2 separate regions of the Homo sapiens genome follow, and region 2 is linked to region 1. Evidence: promoter capture Hi-C in human tissues and cell types (Jung and others, 2019). All regions are on one chromosome and are shown on one strand. The core of a region is centred on a gene start or on the middle of the fragment in contact, and the rest is flanking DNA. Distances in the headings are between cores, read along the strand shown. Region 1 holds the start of UCMA (upper zone of growth plate and cartilage matrix associated). Region 2 overlaps MCM10 (minichromosome maintenance 10 replication initiation factor).

Region 1 (7,383 bases), core at 3,025-5,524:
ATGTTAGCTAACGCGACACAATAATGAACCGTGGAGTGATTTTAAGCAGGGAACTGACCTGAAAGTTGTTCAGGAAGACCATCCTCCCAGCGACATGGAGGGTCTAAGCCTCAGCTTAGACAAGGCTGTCACCATCATCCGGGAGAGCAATGGTGTCTGAGAAAGGCAGGAGCAAGGGGACCGGCAAGAGCAGAGGGCATTTCAAAAGATGTAAGCAATAGAGTCACCAGGGTCTGAGGACTAAGGAGCTGGGCTGTGAGGGGCGAGGCTGTGCATTTCCGATGACTCCGGAGCTTCTAGTTTGAGTAGCTGGGGATGAACAGTGAGCTCATTCACAGAGATGGAGAAAACAGAAAAAAGAGAAATCTCAAAGGATATGTCTTTGGACAGATTCAGTGTACAGTACTTGTGTGTTTTTTTGCTTGTTTGTTTTTGAGACGGAGTCTCGCTCTGTCGCCCAGGCTGGAGTGCAGTGGCATGATCTTGGCTCACTGCAACCTCTGCCTCTCGGGTTCAAGTGATTCTCCTGCCTCAGCCTCTCAGGTAGCTAGGATTACAGGCACACGCCACCACGCAAGCTAATTTTTGTTTGTTTGTTTGTTTGTTTGTTTGTTTTAGTAGAGACAGGGTTTCACCATGTTGGCCAGGATGGTCTCGATCTCCTGACCTCGTGATCCACCTGCCTCGGCCTCCCAAAGTGCTGGGATTACAGGCATGAGCCACTGCTCCTGGCCACTTGTGGGGTTTAAATCAGGTCTTCTGACATCAAATCCAGCACTCTTCTCTTCTTCCCACAGCCACTAGAATTATGCCTTTGCCATGAGGTGAGGTGGCATGTTGTTCTTTGGGGTCTAATGTCACGAGGAGGCCACTTCTGCAGCACATCCAGCCCTGGTGGGCAGCCCGAGGGCAGGGGCAGCTGAAGGTGGAAACATATGGAAAATGAATGCCCATGGTCTAGACGGAGAGAAAGTTATAAGGCACTGACAGGTTGCGGAAACCAGCTATGGTCAGAACGCTGCTTGGAGCAGATCAGTGTAGCCACTAGGAATCTCAGGTAGGCTGGGCGCGGTGGCTCCCGCCTGTAATCCCAGCACTTCGGGAGGCCAAGGAGGGGGATTGCTTGAGGTCAGACATCAGATTACCCTGGACAACATGGTGAAACCCTGTCTCTACGAATTTTTTTTTTTTTTTTTTTTTTAGATGGAGTCTCACTCTGTAGCCCAAGCTGCAGTGCAGTGGCATGATCTCGGTTCACTGCAACTTCTGCCTCCGGGGCCCAAGCAATTCTCCTGCCTCAGCCTCCCAAGTAGCTGGGACTACAGGCATACACTACCACGCCCAGCTAATTTTTTGTATTTTAGTAGAGATGGGGTTTCACCATGTCGCCCAGGGTGGTCTCAAACTCCTGAGCTCAGGTGATCTGCCTGCCTCGGCCTCCCAAAGTGCTGAGATTATAGGCATGCGCCACCACGCCCAGCTGAAAAAATTTTAAAAATGATTTACCCAAGGCTGACTCGCCAGTGACGGGCACAGGTGCCTGGTGCATGGCAGCAGGTGTTCAATACAAGTTTGTGGCTGAAACAAATAGAATTAAAAAGGCACAAGTGGACTTAGGGTATGGAGGATGTCACGGGTTTGTCACATGTCCGCTTTCTCACTGGACGTCCCATCAAAATCGCTCAGCCCTGTGTCTGTCCCTCCCCTCTCCCAGTGACATCCAGTTCATTTGATAGATGAGCCCTGTGGCTCTGTCCTCATGCATTCGTTCAGCCATGTAGAGCCCTTGCTCCCATGTTCAGTGCAGGCCAGCCAGTATCCCAGGGGAGCCCACGTAGGGCCAGCCAGCATAGCCATCAACCCCATTTTCTTCCACTGGAAACCAACCCTTTATTTTGTTTACTCTGTCTCAGTTATTTTTCTGCCTTAACATTCTTTTCCTGGACGACGGTAAAGTCCATGAGGGATGTAAACATGAAAGTCTTTCTTTTCTTTTCTTTCTTTTTTTTTTTTTTAGATGGAGTTTCGCTCTTGTTGACCAGGCTGGAGTGCAATGGTGCGATCTCAGCTCACCGCAACCTCCACCTCCCGGGTTCAAGCAATTCTCATGTTTCAGCCTCCTGAATAGCTGGGATTACTGGTGCCCACCACCACGCCCAGCTAATTGTTGTATTTTCAGTAGAGACAAGGTTTCACCATGTTGGCCAGGCTGGTCTTAAACTCCTGACCTCAGGTGATCCACCTACTTTGGCCTCCCAAACTGCTGGGATTACAGGCATGAGCCACTGCACCCGGCCTTTTTTTATTTTTTTGAGACAAAGTCTCGCTCTGTCACCCAGGCCGGAGTGCAGTTGCGCAATCTCGGCTCACTGCAACCTCTGCCTCCTGGGTCCAAGCGATTCTCCTGCCTCAGCCTCTTGAGTAACTGGGATTACAGGTTCATGCCACCACGCCTGGGTAATTTTTGTATTTTTAGTAGAGATGGGGTTTTGCCATATTGGCCAAGCTGGTCTAGAACTCCTGGCCTCAACTGATCCACCTACCTCAGCCTCCCAAAGTGCTGAGATTACAGGCATGAGCCACTGCGCCCGACTGAAAGTCTTTCTTTTTTTAAATAGACATGGGGGTCTCGCTATGTTGCCCAGGCTTATCTCCAACCCCTGGCCTCAAGTGAGCCTCCTGCCTCGGCCTCCCAAAGGGCTGGGATTTCAGGCTTGAGCCACTTTGCCTAGCTAACATAAAAGTCTTGTAAGAGGGGAGCTTCAGGTAGGTATGGGCTGGGTTCTAGGTCTAGTGATGGTTCCCATTAGACAAACATTAAACGATGCCAGAAGGCTGACAGCAAAGAGTTGATGGTTCCTAACAAAGGCAACATTAGGAACACATCTCCAAGGGGACTGAGCTCTAATGGCCATGTTGGTGCTGATTTCATTAGTGGTCCCATTTCTGGGAACCCATTTCCTCCCCTACATGGAGTATGATGTGTGTCTTCCTAGAGATGCAGGATTAGCTGTGGAGCTTTTCAGATACCTGCCCTTCTCCCCCTCCGCTGTGGAAGGTGATTGAATTTGGCCTTGCTGTTTTTAAATTTTTTTTTTTTTTTTTTTTTTGAGATGGAGTCTCGCTCTGTTACCCAGGCTGTAGTGCAGTGGTGCAATCTCGGCTCACTGCAAGATCTGCCTCCCGGGTTCACGCCATTCTCCTGCCTCAGCCTCTCTGAGTAGCTGGGACTACAGGTGCCCGCCACCACGCCCGGCTAATTTTTTTTGTATTTTTAGTAGAGACGAGATTTCACCGTGGTCTCGATCTCCTGACCTCATGATCCGCCCACCTCTGCCTCCCAAAGTGCTGGGATTACAAGCGTGAGCCACCGTGCCCGGCCGCTGTTTTTAACTTTTAAATTTTTATTTTATTTTATTTTATATGTATTTTTTTTTTGGGACTGAGTCTTGCTCTGTCACCCCAGCTGGAGTATAGTGGCGCGGTCTCGGCTCACTGCAACCTCTGCCTCCCGGGTTCAAGTGATTCTCCTGCCTCAGCCTCCTGAGTAGCTGGGATTACAGACGCCCGCCACCATGCCCGGCTAATTTGTTTATTTTTATTTTTAATAGAGACAGGGTTTCACCGTGTTGGCCAGGCTGGTCTCGAACTCCTAACCTCAGGTGATCTGCCTGCCTCGGCCTCCCAAAGTGCAGGGGTTCCAGGCATGAGCCACCGCGGGAAGGCAATTGACTTTAAAGGGCTCTGGGACCCGCGGCCCCAGGAGTTTGTGTTTGGCTTGGCAGTGAGCATCAGCTGGAAGCAGTGCATCAGGTAAGGTGTTCTCTGGTCGCTGTCAGCATGACCCACACGTCTGTGTGTCACCCTGATGGGTATTCCAGTCATTATGAGCCCTTCTTGACTGACATTTAGATCAAAACTCCCCCATTGATCCTCTCTTCCTCCTTGCCCCCACCCATGCTTCAACCCTGAGGACCGGGGCCCTAACGTCCCTGGAGCAGGTGCCAGGACCTCCTTGACACAGGCCTTGGTCACTGGAACCCTGACTGTTAGGATGAGCCTTCCCAGCAGCAGATCCCCAGACACGGACATTGGAAAGGCCACTCCAAGACCGTCCCACCCAGGGCCCTAACTACAAGCTCTGCTTCTGGAGACATTTGCCAGGTGCCAAAAACATCTCCGTTGCTCCATCTAGGAGCAGCCAATGGAAAGGGCAGCCCAGCCCCCTCCTCCTCTCCCCCAGTGGTATCCCAGCCTCCTGCCTCTCTCTTCCCTCCCCCGCCTTCCTTCCTCTCGCCTGGGCTGCCTGCCTCAGAAGTGGGGACCCAAAGGGTGCAGGACGCCTGGTCTGCCTTGTGGGTCCTGGACGGAGCCCCTACCTCTGCAAAGATGACTTGGAGACAGGCCGTCCTGCTGTCTTGCTTCTCCGCCGTGGTGCTCCTGTCTAGTGAGTACAGGAGGGTCAAGGTGGAGGGTGTTAGTTACATGGTAAGGGAGACTTACCATGCACAGGTAAGGCTGCTCAGGTGATGCAGGTAGAAAGGAGTATGCTTATTGTTAACATGTGTGTATGTGTGTGTCGTGTGCATGTAGGACACAATGCAATACAGAAAAATAATAATAATAATAAAAAACAGTAAAGAAAGAAACAAAATAGAAAAAAAACCCAAGCCAGCTTGCTTGGTGGGTTCCTGGGGAGATTGGCTCTGCAGCTGGTACGTGAGAAACCACGGGCCCCCTGCCAGGCCCTGGCAGGACGCTTAGCCTGGAAAGAGAGATGGGGACTCAGCTCAGGGTCTGGGCTCCCCTCTGATGCTGCAGCCTCACTCTGTGCCCTTGTCCTGCAGTGCTGAGAGAGGGAACCAGTGTATCTGTGGGCACCATGCAGATGGCGGGAGAAGAGGCGAGTGAAGGTGAGTGCAGGGGCCACCCACGGGGCAGGGCAGGTGCAGCCAGCGAAGCAGCAGCCCCAGCACCCCCACACTGCTGGTGACAGGCCTCTCCCGGGTTTCAGATGCAAAACAGAAGATTTTCATGCAGGAATCAGATGCCTCGAATTTCCTCAAGAGGCGCGGCAAGCGGTCCCCCAAGTCCAGAGATGAGGTCAATGGTAAGGATGCTGGAGGGACCCCATCCCGCGTCCATCACCACCTCTGCTCACACCCCCCGGCTCCTCCTCTCCCACAGTCAGCCGGGCAGCAGGATGCAGCTGGGCACGAAGGGCTCACCCCAGGGTATCAAAGGGACTGCAGCTCTGAATGAGAAATTACACCCTATTTCCTGACTGTAGGTCGTATATTGGATTGAATACTTTGTCAGGGTTAGGAGGCCCCACCTCTGCAAAGATGACTTGGAGACAGGTCCTCTTGTCCTGCTTCTTGGCCATGATGCTACATTAAACACACCTAACAGGGATAAGATGCATTGGATTTCAGAAAGGTGTAGGGAGGGAAATCTATATTCTGGTCTGGAGGCGACCCACACATCAGTGTGTGCTTTGCGGGTACTGGTCCAGCACACCTTCTGTATAAGAGCAACAGCATCGCACATGGGGAAGGCACAGGACACTGGGTGCTGAGAAATGTGGGTCTGGGGACAGCTGTGCTGCTAAGTGGCCTTGGCTACTTCCTCCCTCTGGTCCTAATTTCCTTATTTATAAGCCTCTGAAAGAGCTGTGTTCAGCCAGCAGAGGTTTTTTTTTTTTTAAGTTTTCATTTTCAACACATTGGGGTGAGCCTGTCTGTTGCACAGCCTGCTGTAGGGCCTGTGGAGCCCCGGCTTCAGGGTCCTCATGCCCTTCACCTGCCAACCCCTGAGGGCATTTGAGTTTCTACTCCTGAACCTGCTTCTTCCAAGATGCTGAGCTCAGACAGTATCTCCCGAGTCTCTGGCTTGAGTCTTTCCTCCTCGTGCCTGTGGGTGAATGAACTCTTTGTATTCTTCAGGGCACTCAGCAAGGTGACTTGCTTGGTAAAAATAACAGGACTGTTTTCAAATGATGGGAAGAACAGAGATAGAAATGCTTGGAGATGAAATTTCTTTTTTTAAAAAAAATTGAATAAGTATAACCGTGCTAGGAAAACCTCCAGGCCTCATACAACTGGAGATTTAAAAGTTGGCCAATGTCAAGAAGCACTGAAAGGTTGGGAGGGGGGCTGGACTGTTTTTGATTAAAATGGGAGAAGCAATCTTCTGGCAGACTTCCAGGGGAAACAGGCATGATTTTAGGCCAGGCAAATAGCTTCTGTCCTCTTTTTTTTTTTTTTTTTTTTTTTTGAGATGGAGTCTCACTCTGTCGCCCAGGCTGGAGTGCAGTGGCAGGATCTTGGCTCATTGCAACCTCCACCTCCCAGGTTCAGGTAATACTCCTGCTTCAGCCTCCCAAGTAGCTGGAATTACAGATGCCTGCCACCACGCCTGCTAATTTTTGTATTTTTGTAGAGACAGAATTTTGCCATGATGGCCAGGCTGGTTTCGAACTCCTGAACTCAGGTGACCCCCCTGCCTCGGCCTCTTAGAGTGCTGAGATTACAGGCATGAGCCACCGCGCATGGCCTCTTCTGTCCTCTTAAGCTGACTCCAAACAATGAGCTACACCATTTAGCCTGAAGTGCCTTACCTCGGACAGAAGCTCAGTGTGTCAATTAGTCATGGGAGGTGCAGGACAGCCTGGTGAACACCCAGGATTGTGCATGAATGCATCTGCTGTCACCCAGTCAACTCCTGTGGATAGCAGGAGGGCAGTGCCCAGCGATGCCTCAGGTTGGATAAAGGGCAGGTGACAGACACTTCAGCCAACTTGAATTTGGAACCAGGAGACAGGCATCTGACATCTCTAAGCCTCTGGGATAAAGGTGAAGTTACTTTAGGGTGAAAAGAGAGTGTGATGAATGCATGTTCTTGAGAAGAAACGTATACAATGCACAGAATGACACATAGTATAAAATTACTATCTTGTCCTGAGGATTAAATTGTTCTTATTCATTACGTCAAAGCTCTAATTTGTGACACCTCTGAAAAGACCACTTGGGAAGATTGTTTGCTGTCCTGAGTACACAGGGGACAGAGGACGCTTCTTTAGGAATAGGCAGTGACTTACTAAGTACCTGCTTCCTAAACCCTAAGCCCCCGCACCTCCCACAACGGCTTTCTGGCGCTTGGAGCAACATCAGGACCCACAGTGGGTGGGAAGAGGGAAGCTGAGCCAGCAGTGGCGTGTGGGAACCTGGTACCCTAGCTCTGCCCCAATCTGCTGTGTGACCTCTGTTAGGTCATGCACATCTCTGAGCCTGAATCCCCTCTGAGAAATGTGTGAATGCCGAGTGAGAGGTGGGGCATGGGTATGGATGGGATAACCAACCCCTTCTGCCAGACTCAAGTTTC
Region 2 (7,383 bases), core at 2,170-4,669, 42 kb after region 1:
GCACTCTAGCATGGGTGACAGGGGGATAGTCTGTCTCAACAAATAAAAAATAAAACCGCCAGGCATGGTGGCTCACACCTATAATCCTAGTACTTTGGGAGGCCGAGGTGGACAGATCATTTGAGGTCAGGAGTTCGAGACCAGCCTGGCCAACATGGTGAAACCATGTCTCTACTAAAAATTAGCCGGGCGTGGTGGTAGGCGCCTGTAGTCCCAGGTACTCGGGAGGCTGAAGCAGGACAATCGCTTGAATCTGGGAGGAGGAGGTTGCAGTGAGCCGAGATTGCGCCACTGCACTCCAGTCTGGGTGACAGAGTGAGACTCCTTCTCAAAAAATAAATAAATAAATAAATAAATAAATAAATAAATAAATAAACGTAAAAAAAGGATTCCTTAAACCACCATTTTACAGTCTCACCTCAACAATTCCAAGCATTGTTTTCCTACTGTCAATGCCTCTGGTTATAAAACACTATCTTCCTCTAGGCTACCTCTTGTAGCCTGACAAGAAAAAGTGTTGAGATAACAGATCTAACTTTCTTTTAGTATTATGTTGACACTACCATGTTTTCAAATTACACTGACTCTAATGATCACGATCAATAAAGAGCTATTAGGTGTCTGTCTTTCCTCCAGCTCTGCTCTACAGAATGCAAACTCAAGTGCTAAAGAGAAGAGATGCCAGTTACCTTTTTGGCTTCTGCTAAAGCACTCAGTTTTGGTCTTGGTGGTGGTGACTCATCATAAAAGAGAACATCATCTCCTTCCAAGACACCTCGCCCCAGCTTGGGCGTCATTGTGGCCGGGGCTCCCTCCAGCCTGGGGAACTCGGATCCTGTCCGTGGAGGCTGAGCAGGGGGCTGTCTTGATGAAGATGGCACAGCTGGGCTCTCAACTTCACTTGAGCTCTGCAGAAATCTTTAAAGAACATACAGTCAAAATACGCAAACAGGGTTTACGAAAATAAAAACTCTAGAACTCAAAGTGGACTGGGAGGCGGCAGGCAGGCCACCAGTTGGGAGCTAGTTGTTAGCAAAATAATGTCCCCTTCTAGGCTGGTAATTCAAATTTGCACACGATAAGAACAATACTAGCTTTACTAACTCCTCCTTAATTGAGTTTTCTTTGAATAAGCTGTAATTGTCCTAACACTTTAGAACTGATAACTGTTTTTATCAATTGGCTGTCCAGTGGATGTCATCCACAAGGAACACAGCTGAAGACGCGGTGTGAACTGTATTCCCACCCCTACCGTCAGCTCTAGGGCCTGTAGGAACTCATTGCACCTCCCTGCATCTTTGTTTATGCTACTGGGAAGAGACAATACATGTGAGACATTTGGAAGTCATTAATGAAAAACACTGTAACTTGCAGCGATTATTTTACATCCCCTTTCTTTTTTTTGATTTTTTTGAGACAGAGTCTCGCTGTGTCACCCAGGCTGGAGTGCAGTGGCATGATCTTGGCTCACTGCAACCTCTGCCTCCCAGGTTCAAGTGATTCTCGTGCCTCAGCCTCCCAAGTGTTGGGATTATAGGCGTGAGCTATCATGCCTGGCAAAAAATAGTTTTAAGAGCTATTTTACTTTTGTTTTTGGAGACAGGGTCTTGCTTTGTCACCCAGACTAGAGTGCGTTGGCACGATTGCGGCTCGCTGCCACCTCTGCCTCCCAGGCTCAGGTGATCCTCCCACCTCAGCCTCCCGAGTAGCTGGGTCCACAGTGTGCACCACCATGCCCAGCTAATCTTTGTACTGTTTGTAGAGACAGGATTTCGCCATTTTGCTCAGGTTGGTCTCAAACTCCTGGGCTCAGGCGATCTGCCTGCCTCGGCCTCCCAAAGTGCTAGGATTACAGACATAAGCCACCAAGCCAGCCTCATAAGAGATATTTAAAAACAAATAACAAACCCCAGAAATCATCTAGTCCAAACTTCTCATTTGATCGATGAAGAAACTGAGGCCTAGGATCACATTACTCACAAGGGCCAGACTCAGGATTAGAGCCAGGCCATCCCAGAGCAGTACTCTTCCCAACCGCACAGCCACTCTTGCAAGCTCTAGGCTGTGTTTGCAAACTGCCTATCAAATCCTACGCAAAGATAAGGTTTCCTTGGCCAACAAAATTCTGAAAATTTTCATTACGCAATGCCTTCAAGCTGATGGGCATTCTCTATTTCCCACGAGGCCCCCAACTCCATACATATTTCTGTGTCCACGTATATAATTTATGTCATCTGTAGGCTCAAGATGAATAGCTCTATAGATATCCCACCGGCACTTCAAACTAATCTGCCTGAGACCAAACCCATTCTCTTACTTTCCCAAAGAATTTCCTCTTGTCTTATCATTGACTCCCTTTCATGGATGTGGTTGCCTTTCAGCAGCCCAGATTCGGGATGGCAAAAGGTTCAGCACCAGAGCACAACATGTGTGAGCCCAAAACTCGGCCCCACCATAAACTAGCTCTCTGATCTCCAGGCACACTATTAGTAAAACAAGGCTGAGAAGCCTCCGGAGGCTCAGATACTGTGTTTATGGAGTACGTATGAAGTGCCTGTGAACCGCAGCTCTCATTAGTATTCAGGTGACCTGAGTTCAGGAATCATTCATTTGTCCACCTACCCTATGCATTTCCACTTGATTTTTTTTTTTTTTAATTATTGGCTGAAGCCAAGTAACACATTTCCACTTGCTTTTGCCTCTAAAATGACTCTCCATTTTTAGTGCTTCAGTTTTGTCCTTTATCCAAAGAACTGTATTCTACTCACTGGCTCTGCCTGTCATAAAAAACTGAATTGCGGCAAAACCCAGAAATGGCAGCCAGGCAAATCCAGGCTTGCGTCCAGGAATTTGAGACCAGCTTGGGCAATATGGCAAAACCCAGTCTCTATAAAAAAATACAAAAATTAGCCAAGCATAGTGGCACATGCCTGTAGTCCCAACTACTTGGGAGGCCAAGGCAGGAGGATCATTTGAGCCTGGGACATGGAGGTTGCAGTGAGCCGACACTGCAGCATTGCACTTCAGCTGGGGTGACAGAGTGAAAACCCGTCTCAGAAAAAAAAAAGAGAGAGAGAGAGAAAATGACAGCCAGCATGTGAACCTACGCTCTCCCCCTTCACAAAAACCCTCTTTACATACACTTCACTCCTTTCCCTTTTCCATGGTGATAACGACTCTAACCTGTACCATTTGGTGTTGGGAGTCACCAGTGTAAGAAATAATACAGCCTTAAATGCTATTCAGGTTATGGGAAAACTATTTTAAACTTTCAGAGTTAAAACGCAGCCAACCGAAACCTGAAGTCACATTCTGGAAATCGATGAAGACGTTCTGAGGACGCCTGAGATGGATGACCCAAGCGGGGAATATTAAATCTGCTCCTCTTACCGCTTCTGTATTTCTTCTGATTTCCTTCTCCTCATCTCCAACATCCGCTGCTTCTGTTGCTTCAAGAGTGCTGAGGCCGAGATGGACTTGATGGCTGGTTTTGGGCTCCCCATAATCCCTGAAACAGAAGCCCAGACTGAGGGGGTGCCCTGGGAGGCTGAGGGAACACAGGGACACACGTGTGGCCATGCAGCTGATGGTACCTGAAGCTGTGGCTTTGGCTAAATGTTGTTTTAAGTTCCTGGCTCCACACGTCGGCAGGTCCATCAGTTCCTTGAACTCCTCAGAGCAAGACAGGCTCTTCTGGGGTATTCCTGTGCCAGGTCAACACCAGCTTTAGAGGATTCACATTCAGATGGTTTGAGGTCATATGACATACCACTTTCTAAACTCTGCACTTGTAATTTTAGTCATACGTAAACGAAGAAGACGGAATCCCAAGAGGAAAGAAAAGAATCCTTAACCTCTATCATCAGACTCATAGGATGGCAGGGTATCTCGACTATATTTTATTTCTAGTAATGATTAGAATATTAAGCCCTTAAATCTGGGGGTCATTCCATACCCTGTTTCTGGAATATCCGCTAAGGATAAGGGTCCCTGACCACAAGCCCAGGATGGGGGCTGCATTCTCTGATCAAGACTTGTTTTTATTTGTTTTTATTTTATTAAAAATTTTTTTGTTTTTATGACCAAGACCCATTTTAACAAAAGATAACCAATAAGCTTGGCCAGGAAGATAATACTGCTGATTCTAATGCTGGATGTAAAGAGTTGGACCCAGATACACCAAGAAATTTTAAAAAGCATACTAAGGTAAGACATAGCTAAAATCAATATGCTGTTTTTTTCCTTAAGGTCCTGCAAACCTGGCTTGATTCCTTTAGGTTAGACCGCGCCACTCACTAAGTACAGGTGATGACTGGATTCTTATTACTTAAGAGTATGAGCTGTATCCATTTTCAACCCTAAAGACTGCTTGCTTGCTTGCTTGCTTGCTTGCTTATTTATTTATTTTTGTGCATGAATAAGTTCTTAGTGGTGATTTCTGAGATTTTGGTGTACCCATCACCGGAGCAGTGTACCCTGTACCCAATGTGTAGTCTTTTATCCCTAAGGCTGCATAATTAAACTGGAGAAAGAAATTTCTTATGGAAAAACAAAGTTACCGAGTTTTTGCCGTGTTTCCTGGATGATCAAGTTTGTGCCCTTAACAACCAGATTACTCAGAGTGGTTTGAATCTTCTTCTTAGGAGCCACAGCTGCTGCACTGAAATGACAAGTCACCCCCAAAAGGAGAATCACTAAAGCCTCAATGCTCTGATGAGGTAAAGAAGGCATAGATATCATCATTTATTACACACACCGTCAAAGTTTCTCAAAACACCATCTAAGTAGGCTTTCTTAATGTTACGGCCCAATAGCATAACTGGTTTATGCACTGTGTCACAGAGGAAAAGCTAGAGGCAGCCTACAAATCCACTTGAGGCCATTCTGGAAGGAAATTTGGCAAAAGAAATAAAAAAAAAGCCAATGCTTTGATCCAGCAGTCTGGATATTTATCTTAAAATAATTAAGGATTATGCAAAAATTTAGGATATTAATGGCAGCTTTGTTTATAATGTCATACATTGGAAACACCATTAACGTTCACCCACAGGGAATTGTTTAAATGAATTAAGGCAGAGTATGCAAAAGAACACTATGTAGCCACTGAAAATACATGAGAAAAACATTAATTATTTTACACTGGAAAAAAAGTGGATACAAAGAATAGGAACAATATGATCTCATTTTATATTACTAAAAATGTACACATATGAAGAAACACAACACCTAGGAGTATATATACCAAGGAACTAACAGTTTGGGGTTTTTTTTTTGAGACAAGATCTCACTCTGTTGTCCAGCCTGGAGTACAGTGGAGCAATCCTGACTCACTGCAGCCTCAACTTCCCCAGGCTCAAGCAATTCTCCCATCTCAGCCTCCCAAACAGCTGGGACTACAGGCATGTGCCACCATGCCCAGCTAATTTTTTTTGCATTTTGTAGAGATGGGGTTTTGCCATGTCGCTCAGGCGGGTCTCAAATTCCTGGGCTTAAGCAATCCTCCTGCCTTGGCCTCCCGAAGTGCTGGGATTACAGGTGTAAGCCACTGTGCCTGGCCTAGAACTAACAGTTTTTCAGGTGATAGGATTATAGTTGGTTTTTATTTTCTCCATTGGTTGGATTGTATGTTCTTTTAAAAGACTAATATACATGTATTGTTTTAGCAGATTGGAAAAATTCAGAAATAATTTTAAATCTCAAAAACATGCTTACTGTTAAAAAAGAAACAGGAAATGAGTCCTCTTGCCCCATTCCTGCTGGATTGGGAACAAAAATCTATGTTTTATTCTTGGACCAACTGTAGCTGCCTCGTGCCAAGTCCTCAGATATGCTTTATATAATGTAGTGACGAGGCCACTGATTACAAGCTTATCCAAACCATAGCCTGCGGGCCACATGCAGCCCAGGATGGCTTTGAATGCGGCCCAACACAAATTCATAAACTTTCTTAAAACATTAAGAGATTTTTCTTTTCTTTTCTTTCTTTTTTTAAGCTTATAGGCTATCATTAATATATTTTATGTGTAGTCCAAGACAATTCTTCCAAAGGGGCCCAGGGAAGCCAAAAGATTGGACACCCCTGGATTACAGCGTCAGGGGCTGTAGTGACTCTGAACCCCCAGGCAAGGGGCCATGGATGCCTGCCCAGCATCGCCCCACTCCCCATGTGAAGCTTCATAGTATATTCACTCACTGAATGAAATTTGGGTTCCATGAGGTCTGTAGCCTCACTCATATAGTCATACGAGAAATAATTAAAAGGGTGTTAACACTGTAATTAACACATTTTTAATGGCCCTGATGAAGGTGCACTATTCACATTAGAAGTCAAAGAGGGGCTGGGAGCAGTGGCTCATGCCTGTAATCCCAGCACTTTGGGAGGCCGAGGCAGGCAGATCACCTGAGGTCAGGATTTCGAGACCAGCCTGGCCATCATGGTGAAACCCTGTCTGTACCAAAAATGCAAAAATTAGCTGGGCGTGGTGGCACGCGCCTGTAGTCCCAGCTACTCAGGAGGCTGAGGCAGAAGAATCACCTAAACCCAGGACTTGGAGGTTGCAGTGAGCTGAGACTGCACCACTGCACTCCAGCCTGGGTGATAGAGTAAGACTCCGTCTCAAAAAAAAAAAAAAAAGTTGAAGAGGAAGAGTGGGCTCTCTTAAAGTCCAACACAACATAAGTCAATCTCTCTCTCTCCTGAAAGTTTTTCTCTCTACCTGGGAATAAAAGCGGTCTTTAACCAACTTGTTTCAAGTAGTGAGTTATGAAAGATAAAACCTGTACAAGTATCCTATGACGGTTACAGGAAGGTACAACCAGTAGGTTTAGTCTTTGATAAGCAAAATCCTCTGCCCAAAAGAAGCCCGAGAACGTCTTACATTGAAGCTGCATACGAGGCAGAAGAAACCCCTCCGTAGTAAAAGCCATCTTGGCACAGCCGTTCTTTGAGGCTGGTGCCTCTGCGGGCAAACTTCTTTGGAATTCGTCCTCCAGAGAAGGTGGACTGCAGATCCGCACGCTTTGCGCTGAGCTTCTTGTACTGAGCCTGGACATGGTACTGACAGTACTCACAGTCACGCTGCAAAAGGCAGAGCAGTGGCATCAGGATGAGGGCAACAGGCTGGGAAACAGCAGTGAGCAGACACAGTTCCTTCTCCCCACTTCCCGGAACATGACGCATGCAGAGTCCTCCCTGCTGACCTCCACGACCGTTCCCAATGTGGAAGGGCTGCTCAGTCCCTGAGGGGAAGAAGTTCTTCCCTTCGAGTCCCCTGAAAGCACTGTTCTGGTGAAATACCCCTTGCCCTCTTTCTACAAAGGAAATCAGCTTTTAGGATGAACCTTGAAAACAAGTTAGGTGAAAGAAGTCAGACACACAAGGTC

What was found. Contacts are between HindIII fragments. The study calls those that stand out against the background at their distance.
Region 2: a fragment that was not itself captured here is called in contact with the fragment with the promoter of UCMA in region 1 in 2 of the 25 tissues and cell types used here (ovary and stomach).

What each region holds. Positions count from the first base shown.
Region 1 is chr10:13,231,265-13,238,647 of GRCh38, reverse strand. UCMA (upper zone of growth plate and cartilage matrix associated) reads left to right here and starts at 4,274. Exons shown (of 5, transcript NM_145314.3): 1 at 4,274-4,447; 2 at 4,848-4,913; 3 at 5,015-5,110. The coding sequence starts at 4,390. RefSeq lists an enhancer at 3,661-4,571. The HindIII fragment of the contact is 17,086 bases long and covers 1-7,383 here.
Region 2 is chr10:13,188,576-13,195,958 of GRCh38, reverse strand. It overlaps MCM10 (minichromosome maintenance 10 replication initiation factor), which reads right to left. Exons shown (of 20, transcript NM_018518.5): 10 at 6,879-7,078; 11 at 4,560-4,660; 12 at 3,594-3,704; 13 at 3,391-3,508; 14 at 690-918. Among named protein-coding and RNA genes, the nearest start is that of MCM10, 31 kb to the right of the region's middle. The HindIII fragment of the contact is 3,146 bases long and covers 1,847-4,992 here.